2 separate regions of the Homo sapiens genome follow, and region 2 is linked to region 1. Evidence: promoter capture Hi-C in 16 types of primary human blood cells and fetal thymus (Javierre and others, 2016). All regions are on one chromosome and are shown on one strand. Each heading gives the region's core, a stretch centred on a gene start or on the middle of the fragment in contact. The rest is flanking DNA. Distances are from core to core; before and after follow the strand shown.

Region 1 (4,390 bases), core at 1,143-3,642:
TCCTGACCTTGTGATCTACCCGCCTCAGCCTCCCAAAGTGCTGGGATTACAGGCATGAGCCACCGTGCCAGGCCACTTTTCCTTTTTTCATAAGCTATAAAACAGGGCTCCGGAAGGCATCTACCAGTGTTCACTTGAGTTTTTTCTGTGGCTGTTAACTCTAATCAATATTGCAACACTATGACCTTCAGCAAGTAATGTACCATAAGTTGAAACTTAACAGAGGGAACAAAATTCCCTAACATCTGTAGCTCTATTAGCTTCACAGACTAAATAATTTCTGGTCCCTTTTTAAAAAAAAAGTTTGCAAGGTGATGTTGTAGCTGCTATTTTTCTAGTGGGAGTGAAAATGGGCTCGGAAATGTGGCATGGGAAAGAGGAGTTAGAGTTTTGTGAATTTAGAGGTGTTTACACATTAAGCATTGTTGTCTGTAACCCCTCTTAATATAGAATACATCTTGGTTTAAATCTCAGACCCGTAATAACAAGTTAATCACATGACTTGAATAATTCAAGCCCACTCCAGTAACAAAACTAAACCAGATGGTCACTCTAGGGCCAAATGATCCTGGGAGTCTAGGAAGAACACACTTCCAGTTCTGTGGGAAGAGGATTGAGAGGACTGCTAAGGGTGGAGTAAGGAACTAGATCTTTTAGACACTCTTCCTTTATTCTCTAGATTTTTCTAGACAGCAGACCTACCTGAGGCTAGGATCTTTCAGAACCTCAGACTAGCAAGACCACAGAAGCGAAAGACACAGGTGGGCAACTTCTTCCTAGGGTTTCCCACCACAGTGGCTGTGCTGCACATCTGATCTTCTACATTCTAACCCACTATCTATTCAAATTAAGCTGGTTTAAAACCATATCCAATATACTTCATTCTTGGTGCTCAAACTTTATTGACCTGAGTGATTACTGGGTATAATGAATTCTTTTTGTCCTTCTGCCTACAACACTCTCAAGAATCTCCAGAAAGCTTTACCAAACAAACCATTTCATACTTGCTAACGTTATCTAGCCAGACCTTTGTCCTCAAGTGATTGGCAACTAAGTGTTAGCTATTGAGTGCACACTCATCAATGTACACTTTCAGAATGTAATCTTCTCAAGAAAGGAATTAAGTCTCATAAAATATTCAGTACAAGCAGAATTAAGAGCAAAGCGGAAAAAGAAAACTAACTTTGAGTGTTTGTTACATACGAGATGCTTTATATAAATTGCTCCACTTATTCTGCAGTGAACCCAGATCATCCTGTACATCATCATTGCTAAAATGCACATTTTTTTTCACTTTTTAAAAAACCAGGATACATGTGACAACCACTGGTGTGTCACAGTTTTAATAAGCAATCGTTCTTCATTGTTAGTGGTAAACAAAATAATGGTCCACCTTACAAGTGATGGTGCTTCAGGCCCCTTAAAATGTGTTAATATTTTCATGTGATTGGAAACACTGAAAAACAGATTAAGTGTCCAGGGTTATTACACAGACTGAAAAGGGACTAGCCAGACTTCAAACCCTGATGTGGCTGATTCCAAAGTTTCTTTCTACTATAACCTACCTGACAAGCACAGAGACTTTGAATATGGCAAGAATTTTCCATAGTCAGCGTGTCTCAAAGACTAGCAACCTTGGGTACTAAGTTTTCGGGAACGGATGTGTCCACAAATCGCCTGGTGGAGACACTGCAAATAAGCTGGTTTAGGTCCCAGCCAACCATAAGCTTCTAGTAGTCTATGCGGCTATGCCGACCCCACTCCGTGTGCAGAAACCATCTTTCCCTGACATACAATCCTGCAGAGGGGGAATTCGAAGTGCAGGACCTTTCCGTACTAGGGACAGCCTCATCCCCCAACTTCCTACTGAGACACTCTTCCTCTACCTCTCAACCCAGACCCTTACCTTCCCCACCAAGTTCACCTTGGACCTCTTCATCCCCAACTCCAAATAAGGCCAGTCTAGACGCCACCCCCATCCTGTCATTTGTCACCGCGGGGCCGAGAGCAAGCTCCCAAATTTGCAGGGCTCCCGGACCCGAATCCTGGCTCAGCCACCCAATATCTCCATCTGCCAGCGGCCTAAGTCATGCCCCCCGCCCCACGTATCCAGCAAAGCTCCTTCCACCGTAGGGGTCCCCGACTCGAAGCCGGAATCCCAAGCGGCTCCCAGGCCCCCGCCGAGGTCCAGCCCTGAGGGCCCAGCCGCGGCCTGGGCCAGGAGGTTGGGTCCGGCGGGGCCAATAACCCGCGGGCGCCAGGAAGACAGTACTGGCTGGACTCACGGAGGAAGCTGCGCGACAGGAGACGGGCGGCGGCGAGGCCGCTGCTGCCGGAGACCATGGTAGCGATGTCAGCGGCAGCGGCAAGGGTTGCGGTCATACGCCAATGACACTCCCAGGCCCCCGGGGACCTCCCAGGGGCAGAGGCCGGAGGAGGCAGAGGGTGGCCACAGCAGTCGCCTGAACAAATTTCCCTTTACAGAGGATTCTTCACGAAACAGCGGGAATGGCAGGTGAAGACAAAGAGGCATCCTATCGGAGAGGCAGATAATAACTCGGCTCCTTCCTAGAAATGTGGGTTTGATTAACATTAATTATAACAGCAGCTGAGGGAAAACCCCACGCGAGACTGGCCAGCGCGTGGCATTGTGGGCAATGTAGTCTGACGGCCGCGACTGGTTCGTAGCTTTTGAGTGAGGCGGCGGGAAGGGAGCGAGGGAAGAGCGGCAGTGAGACCGGGGAGACAAGGGACTTGAAGACTAGGAGGGAAGAAACAGCGAGGTGAGGTGCGAAGAGCAGTGCCAGAACTTTGTATCCCAGGCCCATCTCCTTCCCCCTTCGTTTTCCTCGTTTGCTATTAGAGAGAATAATATTTCTCACCGCGTACCTGTGCCTGGACCCGGAAGGGTTGCCGCTGGGGACGGGAATTCGAACTGGCACTGGTGGCCTGTGAAGGGAAAGATGTGATGAGAAAGACCAAAACCTATCTTACTGACAGTTAACTTCTTGGAATGTGAATTTTTTTAGTTAAATAATCATGCAGTCTTTGACTAGCACTAAGTGCATGAGTGTTTATTCCCTGAGGATCCTAAGGGCTGAAATTCGAGGTCAAATGTGACTTTGCTCCCTGATTGGACAAACAGTTCCCTCTTCTGTAACAGCTTTAGAAGGAACCTCAGAGAGTCCCAGAGTCAAAAGGTAAACAAGAGATGAAGTAATCTGCGTCTCTGCCGAAAATCGTGCTCCTGAGATTCCTCATCAGAATTGTCAATAAAATTGCAATCCTAATTTACTTAGGTAGTCATTATAATTGGCACTGAGCTGTGGGATGGATGAGTGGGATTACCCCAGGAGATTGCCCAATACTTCCTTTATGATCCAAATATTGTCATTAACAGGTTGGACTTCACTGCAAATAAACTCCTCCCTCATGGATCATGTTCTTGTGATAACTAAATTCCTCAGAGTTAAATAGTATCAGTGGTTTCCAGATATATCCATTATAACAAAATGGACATTTTTATGGCAAATAAATAGAAAATCCCTTGCTATTTTAAATAGCAAAATTATTCCTGAGCTGTCGCTTGATAAGTTATATGTTTAGTTTCATTTAATTGATAAAATGCATGATGACAAAAAATATAATTTCAGTACACTTTTAATGAAAATTTGTATTTCCATGAAGACGGGGATTTTTGTTTGTTTTGTATCCTGGAGTATCCCCAGCACCTAGAACAATGCCTTACACAAATAACTCATCGTTGAATTGAATTGATATATATAGGAGAAATAGTAGTATATAGATTATTTTTTGGATCCACAGGCAATGTTTGATGGACTTAGGATATTTCAACCTCTTGTAATAACTGCACCCCTGTGGCAGACCAGGTCTCACTAACGCAGGCCTCCATAACAATGTTTCAGTGCTGACTGAGTGGTTAAGTTAAATATTAAAAGCCAGTGCCCTTATACAAAGGCTGAGATGTAACAGAAACCCACCAAGGGTTTTGCCTAGGCCTTTCCTGGGCCTTGAAGCATGACAAATTAATGAAGAAATTCTTAACAGGACCCATTTAGGATTAAACAAGTTTTATTGGAGGTCCGAAGAAACTCCCCAGGCCTCCACAAACAAGTTTATTGGAGGTCTGAAAGAACTCTCCAAACCTCTGTGATTTAGCAGGGGATAAGATAAGGGTAATCACCCCAGCACCTAAACCCATGTAGATTAAGTAAATTTATTGAGGCTTCAGAGGATGGTCTTCAGTACTCAGACCTTAGTTATAGATTAAAAGAAGTTAATCACTTATGTCTTTAGATAAATGCACACTTACAAGTAAACATATAGCTTAGAAGGTATATAAGCTCTGGAAAACTGTAATTTTAAGTTG
Region 2 (4,963 bases), core at 107-2,606, 380 kb after region 1:
TAGCTTTCACACTCTGCTTACACAGAGCCTCAAGATCAGCCAGAGGTGAGAGATTAGGACCTTCTCAGGTCTTTCCTGGGCATGTGCACAGCTCTTCTCATGCATGTGACTCTCTAGGAATATTTTAGAGCTTTTCTATACCCCCTATGGGATTTTGCTTTTAAGTTTTTTGGGCAGCCCCTTGTAAGCTTCAATTAATATTGCTATTTCCAGCAACTATGATGTTAAACAGCTGCTACTGATTGTTTTCAACACACACCCTAAGAATAGGGCTATTCACACAGAGCAAGCTCTGAGTCAGGTCAAATGAAGACAAGCTTGGGAATGGAAATTTCAGGGAACTATTGGACATGTCAAATAGTGATGATTCTTTAAGGATGGAGCTTTGGAGGAACTTTGAACCCATTCTGTCCCCTCCAGTAACCATTAGGCAAACAGTTTTCACAGCTACTGTAGTTCAAGGCTCCTGATTTTCAAGGCTACTGTGAAGCTGGGAAAAGGGAGATAAAAACAGAACAAGTTAAAATGCCACAAAGCCCACTGCTTCTATCAAAATTCATCCAGTTTTCTTAAATAAACACTTCTAGGATTGTTGCAAGCCTTTAATTAATTTCCAGAGCTGTGGAAAAGTTGATTTTGACCATTTTTTCCAGTGTTCTTATTGCTGCTATGGAAGAACAGGTTTTTGGAGGCCCTCACTCCACCATTTCAGAATTGCTTCTCTCCAACCCCCTATCTTACTGGTAAAGAAACTGAGTGACATGACTTGTTTAAGTTTATGAAGTTAGCAGAAAAATATGAAACAAAGCCCAGCCCAGCAAATGATCTTTCTGCATACTGTCCAGCCTCTGGCATTTCTATCCTCATTTCCTGAGGCTGCAAAGAATTCTGTGTCAGAGTCACTCCGGGGGAGAGAATTTATTTCAAGAAGCCCACAAAAGAAAATAATTGTCCTATTCTGTCTCCATGTGTGCTGCTAACAGTCAATAACAGCTGATGTATCAGCCCCAGGCCTTGGACTTGGGAGGCTCATTGTCAGGTAGAAGAGTAAAGACAAACATATTTGTAGTGAAAGTTTACAAAGTGAAAAGTACCAGAAAGAAGTTGGGATTAAGTATGAAATTCAGAGGACAAAAATGTTTTCCCAGCTGGCTTATGTGTGGAGAGAGCTATGGGTGATGTCACATGCACCAGCTCATCCAGCAACATTTCAACCATGCTGGATGCTCCATCCCCAGCTGGAGCCACTCTGCAACTGAAATAAGTCAAGGAAGGTGTCACTCCCTTCATCTCGCTTCATGACTAACACAGGCCCTAAGCAGGGGCTCACCTCAACATTCCCTTCTTGGGAGAAGCCTCAGATTTCAGAGGCTAATCAGAGGTGACCCACTACTCACCAGCTCCAAAGGCAAAGAAGAAGCCTTTGTCAGGGAACTCCTCCAAAAGGGCCTTCACCCGCTTCCCTATTCTCTCATTCCGCTTGTAGATCAGCTCCCGGCGTAAGTAGCTGTCAATCTCCTGAGCAGTGATGCGCTCCTGAGGTGGTAGCGTGGCATTAATAAAATTGGGAACCTCCACCAAAATAAAGAGAAAAAAAAATAAGGGGCAACAGAGTTATTAACAAAGTTACTTCATTGGAGCATCAAATCCCCCAACCTAGATGGTCAAGACGTTGTCAAGAGAAGAGTGACACCATTCTTGGAGTTTCCTGTCTGCTATGTTTCCCACTCTATCACATTCCCTGTAACCAAAGTGAAAAAAATATTAAGTGAAGTGCATTGAATGAACTCTTACACTATTTACAACTGCACTTCTGTTTTAGTTAAATGGCTCTGTCTGATGCCGTGTGTTTATAAAAAAAAAAAAAGGACACTGTCTTTGCACAGTACATCCATAGTTTTAACTTGTGTGATTCATACATGCTTTTCTTATAAAAATAGTCTTATATAGTTACATATTTTAGATTCTATTACCGAAAACATGAAATTTGTATAAACACTTAAATGTTTTATAAATCCTCTACTTTACATTTTCATTATTTCTCCACTTCCTATTTCTCTCTCTTGCTTTCCCCAATGTTCTTTGCCCTCCTGGCAAATATTTCACTGATTCTGGTATACATGTTAGCCAGTTTCAGTATTTTGGCTAATAACAGGATGAAAGTGCATCAAAATTGTGACAATCAGCGTGGTTCTTGCAGCCCAGGAGCTACAGGTAAGGCTGGCACTCTGTGTTTTCTCCCCACCCCCTCAGCTGTCTGGCTTCCCAAACCTCAGCCTCCCACTCCTCCCCCTGGGTGCATGCTCTCTCCTCCACCCAGGGACTTAACAATGTTACCCATTATCTTGGTCAGTATCTACCCTGCCTGCTGCTGCTGCTTCCAGTAGCCTCTCAAAAAGCTTTCCAAAGTCCTCAGACTCTGTGACAGCATTAACTTCCATCTTATGGATAACAGATCTCCTTTTGCGACGGCCTCGAAATGATATTCTTTCATTTTCAAATCGACAGCCTTCATCTTCTACTCTGTCATCTTTTTTTTTAATCATGTCATTTATGTAAGATCCCCTGCCCATTTCCCAAAATCTCTTCTCTTCAGCAGAGCCCCCCTCTCTACCAGCCTCTCTACAGAGGCAGCGTCAGATACACAGGGTGACCTCCCTCTGACATCCTGCTCCACCTTCTAAATTCCAAACATCACCCAAAGCCTGCACCACTCCCTGCTGGCCAGCCTGGCCCTCACTCACAGTGACAGCACATTCCCTGACCTCCTGTAGGGGCCCTGTGGGCAGAACAGATATGGGAAAGCCACAGGAGAAAAATGCATAAGACATCTGTATTATCTGCTCCATCAGCCTCACCATTTGCCCACGTAATGACCAAATCCTCCGCCCACATTAACTTTTTTCTGCTGCTTCAAATGTCAATTTCCCAATTGATCTTGACTTTTCTCCCCCCTTCCCTACCCTCAGCAAGAGTGCAGGTAAGATTTATCACCACCACCAACTCTATTTTTCCTTCTTTAATGTGTTTCTTGTTCTCCCTTTCCTCCTGCTTCACTTTGTCTCAATTTGACTTTTTTTTCCTCTAGATTTTTGGGGATGCTCCTTACATCTTTTGAGGCTTCTGTCATTAATGAAATGTCACCTTTCTGGGCTGATGCTGCACTCAGCCTGTACTGTCCTTCTCCCCATTGCTGCTATTCCTCCTTCAGCTCTCATGTTCACACATGTCTCCTTATGGTTGGGTCCCCAGATTTAACATAGACCTGTACAGCATCACCCACACCCACTAGCTCCTGTCTCCCCTCTCCAGTGTCTTCATGCATGTGGACACCAGTCCTGGGTGGGGGAAACAACACACTCCCCTACCTCAGAAGTTTAGCTGGTGTTTGCTATTTGCATGTAGTCCTAGAGAGGAGGCGAAGGCACCATGGCTTGTCCCATGGGAAGCCTGTTGATAAAAGCATAACAAAGATCCGTACCACTTCCCTCCTGGAAGGAGACCATGATCTTCTGAGGCTGAGCAGCTACTTCCTTCCACTCAATGGCCCACAGGTAAGGCCTGAGCTGGGCAAACACTCAATCCACCAGCTCAGCCACACTCATCCTGCAATACCACAGGATGCAATGATCCACGTCTGCAAATGCTAGCAGCCTTCCCAGCTCTGATGCCCTAAGCCTGTAAGCATTCTGTGAATACACAGCTATATCATGTTCACATGTTCCTAGAGGCCACTGAAGCTGCAGTCAAAGTTCTGCCCCATCATTTTGCAAAAGTATGACCTAAGTCAGCCAGGAGGCCATCAGACTCAGAACCCTTCCCTTCCTCAAGGCTGGTTCATGTGGCCTACTGTTAAATCCTTTGAAGCTTCATCCTTTGGCTGGAATACTGGAATTAACCCTCATCAATGCCCCTCTCTGTTCTTACAAGGTTTGTAAAGCTTTCATTCGCTGTAGTGCCTCATTCAATGACATCTAAATCTGCCCACTTTATTTCTAGAGCCCTCATGACCTCAATCCTTTGTACACAGGATGTACATGTTGCCAGGTAATGTTTTTATTCCTATAATTAAATGTGTGCTGAGCTTGGCAGGGGGAAAGGGTGCTCACCTGGGAGCTGTCATGGCTGAGGATGACGGAGCTGAGGTCCCCGCAGTTATAGTGTTTGATGAGATCCTCCGTCGTGTAGGGGATCTGAAGACTGCCTGCTCGCAGGCTTTCCTGCTGCAGGAGGGTCTGGTTCAAAGCAAAGATGACCTAAAAGAAAGGTCTCTTTTAAGTTCACTAACAAGGCAACTGTTTGCTGCCATCTTATTTCTTTTGTCCATGGCTGGAAATACCTTCACCTTTGTGCTCGTTATGTAAGGACGTGGATAGTGCTACTTAAAAAAGGGAACACAAATCCCTGGACAGCATCCAAAGAAAAGGAGAACAGTCCTTCCCAAATCAGCCCCAATCAGACACACCTAGGGAACTGCCTTATGGAGGACACAGACAACCTGGAACTCTTCCATGAGTGTGACCAAGAGGTGAGGGAACCCAAGAGCTGGCTTGTGAGGAATAGAAGCTAGGAGGTGGGGCAGCGAGAGGGCTGGGGACTCACAGACACACCTACCAGTGGGTCCCAATTATGTAAAGGACTGGGCAGAAACCAGTGCATTATCCACATCTTTTCTAACCATCAATGCAGCATTCCCAGCTAATGGCGTCATTAGATCCATGGGATATTAAGGGAAGTTAATGTGAAAAAATGGGAAATGAAGGCTAAAGAAAATTAAACACCAGCCTGGCCAACATGGTGAAACATGTCTCTACTAAAAATACAAAAATTAGCTGGGCATGGTGGCATGTGCCTCTAGTCCCAGCTACTTGGGAGGCTAAGGCTAGAGAATCGTTTGAACCCAGGAGACAGAGGTTGCAGTAAGCCAAGATTGTGCCATTGTACTCCAGGCTGGATGACAGTG

The links. Contacts are between HindIII fragments. The CHiCAGO score rates a contact against its expected background, and 5 or more counts as called.
Region 2: a fragment that was not itself captured here is called in contact with the fragment with the promoter of SUCLG1 in region 1 in 3 of 17 cell types (M1 macrophages, M2 macrophages and M0 macrophages); the score reaches 9.2 in M1 macrophages.

What each region holds. Positions count from the first base shown.
Region 1 is chr2:84,456,888-84,461,277 of GRCh38, forward strand. It overlaps SUCLG1 (succinate-CoA ligase GDP/ADP-forming subunit alpha), which reads right to left and starts at 2,393. Exons shown (of 9, transcript NM_003849.4): 1 at 2,286-2,393. The coding sequence starts at 2,382. It also overlaps a transcript of DNAH6 not described here. RefSeq lists an enhancer at 2,430-2,569 and a silencer at 2,750-2,939. The HindIII fragment of the contact is 6,917 bases long and covers 1,726-4,390 here.
Region 2 is chr2:84,837,752-84,842,714 of GRCh38, forward strand. It overlaps TRABD2A (TraB domain containing 2A), which reads right to left. Exons shown (of 7, transcript NM_001277053.2): 3 at 4,110-4,256; 4 at 1,398-1,572. Among named protein-coding and RNA genes, the nearest start is that of TRABD2A, 41 kb to the right of the region's middle. The HindIII fragment of the contact is 2,082 bases long and covers 316-2,397 here.